3 separate regions of the Homo sapiens genome follow, and regions 1 and 3 are each linked to region 2. The links are contacts of gene promoters, found by promoter capture Hi-C in blood cells and fetal thymus (Javierre and others, 2016). All regions are on one chromosome and are shown on one strand. Each heading gives the region's core, a stretch centred on a gene start or on the middle of the fragment in contact. The rest is flanking DNA. Distances are from core to core; before and after follow the strand shown.

What was found. The method cuts DNA at HindIII sites, captures the fragments that hold promoters and counts their contacts. A CHiCAGO score of 5 or more calls a contact.
Region 1: a contact is called between the fragment with the promoter of SPAST here and the fragment with the promoter of TTC27 in region 2, in 13 of 17 cell types (total CD4 T cells, activated CD4 T cells, naive CD8 T cells and 10 more). The highest score is 13.7, in total CD4 T cells.
Region 3: a contact is called between a fragment that was not itself captured here and the fragment with the promoter of TTC27 in region 2, in 4 of 17 cell types (M2 macrophages, M0 macrophages, naive B cells and 1 more). The highest score is 11.5, in M2 macrophages.

What each region holds. Positions count from the first base shown.
Region 1 is chr2:32,062,257-32,064,956 of GRCh38, forward strand. SPAST (spastin) reads left to right here and starts at 1,300. Exons shown (of 17, transcript NM_014946.4): 1 at 1,300-1,990. The coding sequence starts at 1,576. RefSeq lists enhancers at 1,094-1,163, 1,212-2,012 and silencers at 1,384-1,523, 1,584-2,003, 2,034-2,163. The HindIII fragment of the contact is 15,667 bases long and covers 1-2,700 here.
Region 2 is chr2:32,626,616-32,629,315 of GRCh38, forward strand. TTC27 (tetratricopeptide repeat domain 27) reads left to right here and starts at 1,435. Exons shown (of 20, transcript NM_017735.5): 1 at 1,435-1,765. The coding sequence starts at 1,678. It overlaps LOC124905985 (a long non-coding RNA gene), which reads right to left and starts at 163. Exons shown (of 3, transcript XR_007086273.1): 1 at 18-163. RefSeq lists enhancers at 635-1,296, 1,015-1,074, 1,297-1,956, 1,485-1,544 and a silencer at 1,795-1,924. The HindIII fragment of the contact is 6,273 bases long and covers 1-2,700 here.
Region 3 is chr2:33,397,392-33,400,091 of GRCh38, forward strand. LTBP1 (latent transforming growth factor beta binding protein 1) reads left to right here. Exons shown (of 34, transcript NM_206943.4): 34 at 973-2,118. The coding sequence ends at 1,154. Among named protein-coding and RNA genes, the nearest start is that of MIR4430, 20 kb to the right of the region's middle. The HindIII fragment of the contact is 990 bases long and covers 866-1,855 here.

The sequences.
Region 1 (2,700 bases), core at 50-2,549, 560 kb before region 2:
ATTCTTGGAAGCTGGAAGCTCTCATGGGGCATTTGGAAACCTCACATTGTAAATAACGGAGTCTTTTTATCAGTTTGGCTTCCTTAGTTTTAGGAAACAAGAAATAATTATGGCTAACTCAAGTAAAAAGAGAAAGAGAAGAGAAAAAAGACGTGGAGATAGAGAGAGAGGGAGAGAGAGGAAAAGACGAAAGGAAGGAAGGGGGAAAGGAGAGAGGAAGAGAGAAACAGAGAAACAGACTGATTAGTGTATTGGATAGATTACATAACCAAGTGACCAGTCAGGAACCCAGCAGCTCTGGGGGAGCTCAATGTGATGCATTGATAAACCCGCTCTTAAGAGCACTCGTTTCCAGTTACTTTCTATTCGGTGGGTCTCCAGCCAAGATTCCAGGTCCCAGGAGAATCTGACTGACCTAGTGTTTGCTTCCGCCTTTGCGGTCTGGGTTCTGTGCTTGCAGCTCATTAGAATACAGGGAGCAGAGACAAGCAGGTAGTTTCCCAAAGGAAGGGATGCTGAGTAGATTAAAAAAAAAGTGTAGATTCTTCAGTAAACTATGGGATGGTAACTATGCAAAACCTAAGATTTCCCTTATTCAAATAAATTATCTTTCATATTAGACATCTAAATATGCACTAATTTAGTTAAACCCCTGGGTTAGTTGATCTCATCACACTGAGCTAACATTTTTGTTGCTGTTGTTTGCAGTGACCTGAAGTTTCTTATCTTCACAATTGCTTTCCTCTCAAATAATTCCCAGATTTTAAATTTTTATTTTATTTTTTCTGGAGACGGAGTCTCGCTCTGTCGCCCAGGCTGGAGTGCAGTGGCGCGATCTCAGCTCACTTGCAGCCTCTGCCTCCCGAGTTCAAGCGATTCTCCGGCCTTAGCCTTCCAACCAGCTGGGACTACAGGCGCGCGCCCCCACGCCCGGCTAATTTAATTCCCAGATTGATATCCATTGCTTCTGAGATGGGCCAATTATCCTTCGGAGAAGACTTAGGTCGCCTGGCAGAAAAAGATGAAAGAAATCTAAGAAAACGACGACACTGAGAGAGGAGCCTAGCGAACCAGCAGAGCGACCCCAAGCCGCAATTCCCCCTTCCGTGGATCGATTACGAAGGCTTCCTGGCAGGAGCTCTCCAGGGCTGCCGACGTGAGCCGAACTGCACATTGGGAACTGTAGTTGAGTGGGAAAGCCGAGAGGCGGGGGCCGCACACGCGTACAGGGGCCCCGGTCAACAAAGACGCGCCGTGCGCGCGCGCGCCGGAGAAAAACACGGGAAGACGTGCGCGTGCGCGGCCGCCGCTGGGAGCCACCAGGCGGCGGAGAGGACAGCGACAGGAAGGGAGGGGCCCGAGCCACCGACTGCAGGAGGAGAAGGGGTTGTGCTCCTGGCCGAGGAAGGAGAAAGGGGCGGGGCCGGCGGGCAGCGTGCGGCAGTGCGGAGCTCCTGAGACCGGCGGGCACACGGGGGTCTGTGGCCCCCGCCGTAGCAGTGGCTGCCGCCGTCGCTTGGTTCCCGTCGGTCTGCGGGAGGCGGGTTATGGCGGCGGCGGCAGTGAGAGCTGTGAATGAATTCTCCGGGTGGACGAGGGAAGAAGAAAGGCTCCGGCGGCGCCAGCAACCCGGTGCCTCCCAGGCCTCCGCCCCCTTGCCTGGCCCCCGCCCCTCCCGCCGCCGGGCCGGCCCCTCCGCCCGAGTCGCCGCATAAGCGGAACCTGTACTATTTCTCCTACCCGCTGTTTGTAGGCTTCGCGCTGCTGCGTTTGGTCGCCTTCCACCTGGGGCTCCTCTTCGTGTGGCTCTGCCAGCGCTTCTCCCGCGCCCTCATGGCAGCCAAGAGGAGCTCCGGGGCCGCGCCAGCACCTGCCTCGGCCTCGGCCCCGGCGCCGGTGCCGGGCGGCGAGGCCGAGCGCGTCCGAGTCTTCCACAAACAGGCCTTCGAGTACATCTCCATTGCCCTGCGCATCGATGAGGATGAGAAAGGTAACTAGGGGGCTGGGGGAGGGGGCGGCGGCGCCGGGAAGAAGGCGGTGGGGTCGCCGGGGGAGGGCAACACCTGCGTCCCTTTTCTGCGGGAGGGGACGGTGCACCCCCGGAATTGATATGCCCCGGGAGACTGCTTTCCCGTAGGTCGGAGCCTCATCTTCTAGTATTCTTAAAACCTCTCCCCTTTCAGGGCACTGTAGCTGTCGACTTTGTTTCAGACACCAGCCTTCCCCCACACTTCTGCATGACCCAGGTCACTATGAGACACCCAGACGTGTTGATGACAGTGACATTTGTCCTAGAGTGACCACACTGATCCTTTCTAGCACTGTGAAGAGTGTGCAGCTTCCTCTGAACCAAGGTTTCCAAAAGGTTTTGATATTGAAGAAGCAGTGCCGCCTTACTGGCTTTTAATGAAAGCAGAGTATTGTAGTGTCAGAAAAAAAGAACAAATGGTGACAATTTTGAAAGAAATAGCTGCATATGACTGCAGTTGAATTTGCATCATTTTAATCAAGATAATCATTTTATCAGTACAACGATTCCTGAATACTTTTTCAATGAAGTTATATTTAGCATAAAACTTTTCCCCCTGTTGCTTTGATTTTAATTAAAACAGTATTCCAAAGTAGCCTTTAATTTCCAAGTTGAAATGTTTGATGAATGGATTGCGTAAACTTAAACATACCACTTTACAGTAAAACCTA
Region 2 (2,700 bases), core at 185-2,684:
TAGAGATGGGGTTTCACCTTGTTAGGCAGGATGGTCTCCATCTCCTGACCTCATGATCCGCCCGCCTCGGCCTCCCAAAGTGCTGAGATTACAGGCGTGAGCCACTGCGCCCGGCCTGAAAAACAGTTTTTAATTACTTCTCAGTGGGAGGACATTTTAGGGCATCCGCTCTTCTCCAATCACAGTCAGGTCCGGCTTCCTTTGGTATCTGATGGCAATGGCTGAAATGAGCTGAGCTGAGTTCCTCTCCCTTCACATTCTGGAGTGGCTCTTTACTGAGTAAGAAAGTGAATTAACATTTATTTAGCTTCTTCCTTGGAGCTGGGTACCGGGTCAGCCTCTTTTCAGAGAGCTTTTGCTCTTGTGGTCAGAGTTACCCTGCAGTTTTCTCCTGGCTCTTACATGACATATCTCAGTACAGGTGTCAAGCCAATGGGACAAAGCCATAGTCCTGTTTTCCTTCCCTCCTTCCCTCCCTCCCTCCCTTCCTTCCTTCTTCCCTCCCTCCCTCCCTCTTTCCTATTGCCCAGGCTGGAGTGCAGTGGCACCATCTCAGCTCACTGAAACCTCCGCCTCCCGGGTTCAAGCAATTCCCCCGCCTCACCGTCCCGAGTAGCTGGGTTTACAGGGGTGCCCCACTACGTCCGGCTAATTTTTGTATTTTTAGTAGAGACGGGTTTCACCATATTGGCCAGGCTGGTCTCGAACTCCTGACCTCAGGTGATCCATCCGCTTCATCCTCCCAAAGTGCTGAGATTACAGGCGTGAGCTACCGCGCCCGCCCTCTAACTGTTTCTTTGGAGTGCTGCTAGGAAGATTCAAAGAAGTGCAAATAAGGTACCAGCGGAGGCTGGTTTGTCTCCTTGCAATTTCTTTGTGATCACCCCTGGGATCACTCTTCTACAGCGTTCCGACAGTGTTCCAAAAACTTCCCTGCACCAGCGGCAGGGGCAGATTTCCCACCCGGCCATGATTCATGTAGAGCAGTGTCAAAACCAGATCCTTTCCTTACACGCTCATTCGCCGAAAGACCCATGCTATGCTGACGGGGTTCCAACCTGGGCTTCACCGACTCCACGTCAGAGGGTCTGTGATTCCCTGAGAGGGTACCCTTAGGCTGAGAGCAAGGGCCCACCTGCACTCTGCGCGAAGGACTGTGGTTTTCATCGGGTTGTCGAGAGCGTTCTAACCCAAAATGCTTTAAGAATCACAACTCTAGCCCTTCTAATCAAACTGCTTTGGCCAAGACGTCCGTTTTGAGTTGCATTTGAACCCTAGCCCTCGGTGGGAGGCACACTCACTTCCACGTTCACAGTTCTTGGAAGCGGTCCCACTGGGGGCGGGGCTGAGCGCGACCGCGCCCTCAACTCCCCCTATTGCCCGCCCCGGGGTGGGGCATAACCACCCAACAGGCTCCTTACTCAAGCTCGGGTTCTTCTCCTAGGCGGAAGCCAGACCAGAGAGCGTGCGTGTTTTTCCCAGGGTGCCCCGCGCTGCTGTTATGGCCGCCTCCTTGAGGTAGTATCCGCACATGGAATTCTAGGGCCGCAGGTGTATTTACGGTAACTGTCGCCACTAGATTTCAGCGCCTTTGGACTCTCCTGTTTTCACTTTCTTTTGTTGACTCCCGTGTGGCCCTCGTGGGAGCCTGTTTTGGCTGCAGCGGTGTCTGGGGTGATGTGGACCCCGGAGCTGGCAATTCTGAGGGGATTCCCCACTGAGGCTGAGCGGCAGCAATGGAAACAGGAGGGGGTCGTCGGTTCAGGTGAGAGGCGCACCTACCGGGCCTTAGGCTATCGTGGGAACTGTGAGGAAAAGGGATGGCAGCGACTGATTCTCATCCCTCCCTTCATTTTTCCCTAACACAGTCTAGCTGATTCCTTGAGGCTTTGGGTCGTTTAGTCTTTGACATGGTGGGCGTGGTCCTCACTTTCTTTGCGCAAAACTTCTTACCGCCCAGGTTCAGTAATAATGACAATGGCAATGTCAGTTATTTTTCTAAGCCCTTAACATGTACTCAGTCATTTAATGCTTATAGTAGATACTTAAGGTAGATTCAATTTTTAATCCCATTTTGCGGTGAAGATCTGTAAATACAGTTGGGTTAAGTAATTTTATTTTATCTATTTATTTATTTATTTATTTATTTATTTATTTATTTATTGAGACGGAGTTTTGCTTTTTGCCCAGGCTGGAGTGCAATGGCGCGATCTCGGCTCGCTGCAACCTCCGCCTCCCGGGTTCAAGTGATTCTCCTGCCTCAGCCTCCAGGGTAGCTGGGATTACAGGCATGCGCCACCACGCCCGGCTAATTTTGTATTTTTAGTAGAGTCGAGGTTTCACCATGTTGGCCTAGCTGGTCTGGAACTCCTGACCTCAGATGATTCGCCTGCCTCAGCCTCCCAAAGTGCTGGGATTACAGGCCTGAGCCACCGCGCCCGGGTCTGGTTAAGTAATTTATTTAAGGTCACACTGTTGGTAAGCAGAGGAGCTAAAATGAGGCAGCAAAGTTGTTTTTTTGGGGGGATGGAGTCTCCCTCTTGTTGCTCTGGCTGGAGTGCACTGGTGCCATCTCGGCTCACTGCAACCTCCGCTTCCCCGGTTCAAGCGATTCTCCTGCTTCAGCCTCCAAAGTAGCTGGGACTACAGGCATGCACCACCATGCCCGGCTAATTTTGTGTTTTTAGTAGAGACGGCTTT
Region 3 (2,700 bases), core at 111-2,610, 770 kb after region 2:
AGAAAAGTTCTGGAGATGTACATTAAGTACAGTATGAATATACTTAATGCCACTGGACTATATACTTAAAAATGGTTAAAATGGTAAATATGTTCTGTGTATTTTACCACAATTCTTTTTTTTTTTTTTTTTTGAGATGGAGTTTTACTCTTGTCGCCCAGGCTGGAGTGCAGTGGGGTGATCTTGACTCACTGCAACTTCTGCCTCCCAGGTTCAAGCAATGCTCCTGCCTCAGCCTCCTGAGTAGCTGGGACTACAGGCACCCGCCACCACACCCGGCTAATTTTTTTTTTTTTTTTTTTTTGTATTTTTAGTAGAGACGGGATTTCACCGTGTTAGCCAGGATGGTTTCAATCTCCTGACCTCGTGATCCGCCCACCTTGGCCTCCCAAAGTGCTGGGATTACAGGCGTGAGCCACCACGCCTGGCCTCTTCTCCATCTTGAAGCAGTCCTTTTGCCCACTTTGCTTTTGTTAGTTTTAATCCATGGTGTGTCTGTAAAATAGGTAACCTAGCTTCTTAACAGATGTTTCAAGTGAGTGAGAGCCTAAATGGGTCTCATGTAGAAGGAGGTCTGTGAATGTTATGGAAGGCTTTAGACAGGCTGTATGGAGAGGCCTCTGCGTAGGTATCTGGTTCCTCTTGACAAATCTAGCAGTTCCTCCATACCTATGGGAAGGAATTTGGAAGTAATATAGTTCCTCCAACTTCCTTGAGGTTCTACTAGAAAATGTCAAGCTCACAAAATGCTCATGTTTTGCTAGATAACAGTGAAAGAAGTTCTAGAACCTCCCTGATAATCTGCCTCTTTAAGATCTCAAAAAAGTCATCTTCGTCTTGTCTGTGACTGAAGCAATGACGAGAAAGCTTCCTTGGGGTGGTCGGGGGAAGGGCCTCAGGTAAGCCTCAGGTTATGTGTCCTCACAGAATAATATCCAAGATTGTTTACCTGCATGGCTTGACTTATTGCAGATGTAAATGAATGCGATGAGTTGAACAACCGGATGTCTCTCTGCAAGAATGCCAAGTGCATTAACACCGATGGTTCCTACAAGTGTTTGTGTCTGCCAGGCTACGTGCCTTCTGACAAGCCAAACTACTGCACTCCGTTGAATACCGCCTTGAATTTAGAGAAAGACAGTGACCTGGAGTGAAACAGAATCTACATAACCTAAGCCCATATACTCTGCACTGTGTAAAGGAAAAGGGAGAAATGTATTATACTTGAGACATTGCACCTACCCCGGAAGGCTGGAAATACAGAAACAGCATGGAATTGCAAGTCCTCTGAAGACAATGAGAGGATTTAGGATGAGCCCGATAGGTGTGGCAGACCAAATGGACATTTCTCTAAAAAACCAGTATATATAGTCTGTTCATATGTAAAATTCAATGGAAGAGAGGTGGAACAGTGCTGTTATTTTAAACAGAAGGTTGTATTATTATGTTGTTTTGTTTTTTTACTATTGCTTGATTAAATTTGGCATTTAAATAGTGGTGGAAATATTTTATATAATTTTCATTTTTTGGTTGTGCAGTTCCTTGGCTACTGTTTTTCTTTTACTTCAGTTTTTTAAAAATCTCAAATGAAAAAGTCTTCGATACAATATTGTTAAGCTGTATTATAAGTATTGTTACACAGGGTTATGCAATTCCCGGCCTGGAGCATTTTTGAAATTCAAATTGTCTGTCCTGTGGAGCAGGCAGTGATTTTGTTCCAAAACTTTGTATACACATTTGGAGAAAAGTACTTTATATTTTCAGTGTTTTGTCTGATTTTAATGTCCGTTCTTAGCCAAGCTGCTAGCAGGTGTTAATTGGATCCCTTTCCTTCACTGAAATGGAAGAGTTTATAAGCTTACGTTAGTATTGTAATATGTAAAGTAAGCCCAACAAAAATTTTTAAAAATTTGATGATCCCCAATATATCTACCATTGTATGTTAAATAAATCACCATTTTTGTAGAAAAAATTCTACCTGAGAGTAATTGTCAATGAGTACATGTGTATAAGTTGTATCCCACTCTCCCCACTTTTATCTTTTCCAGTGGTCTTCTGTTAATGTAGTGTCTTTTACAAGTTAATCATTAAATTTGTTAGATCTTGTTATGGGCTAAATTGTTTCCCCTAACATTCATATGTGGGAATTTTAACCTCTGATACTTCAGAAAGTGACTAGATTTGGAGATCGGATCTTTAATGAGGTAATTAAGGATAATGAGGTCATTGGAATGGCCCTAATCCAGTATGACTGCTGTCCTTGTGTCACCCATAGAAGGTGTCTGAGTTACCGGTGACGAATCCATATAGGTCTGCAGCAACCTCAGTTCTTGCCTCCTCAGAAGAATTTGACTGAGGGGTATAAGGCAGAAAAAGAGACCAGGCAAGTTTCAGAGCAGAAATGGAAGTTGATTTAAAAAGGCTTTAGAGCAGGAAAGAAAGGAAAGTTCACTTGGAAGAGACCCAAGTGGGCACCTGAAGGCCAAGTGCAGTGTTTAACCTTGACCTAGCTAGGATTTTACAGGCTGGCCCCTTTCCATGCTTCTTCCCTTAGGGTGGGCTGCCGGCACACACAGCACCCTCCTTACACTTGGGAAGTGAGCACACACAGTGTTGAGGAAGCTGTACATATGCCCATCTGAGGCTTTCTTCCCTTTCCTGGTGGTGTGCCCCTGGAAGGTTGTACTCCACCATTTTGTC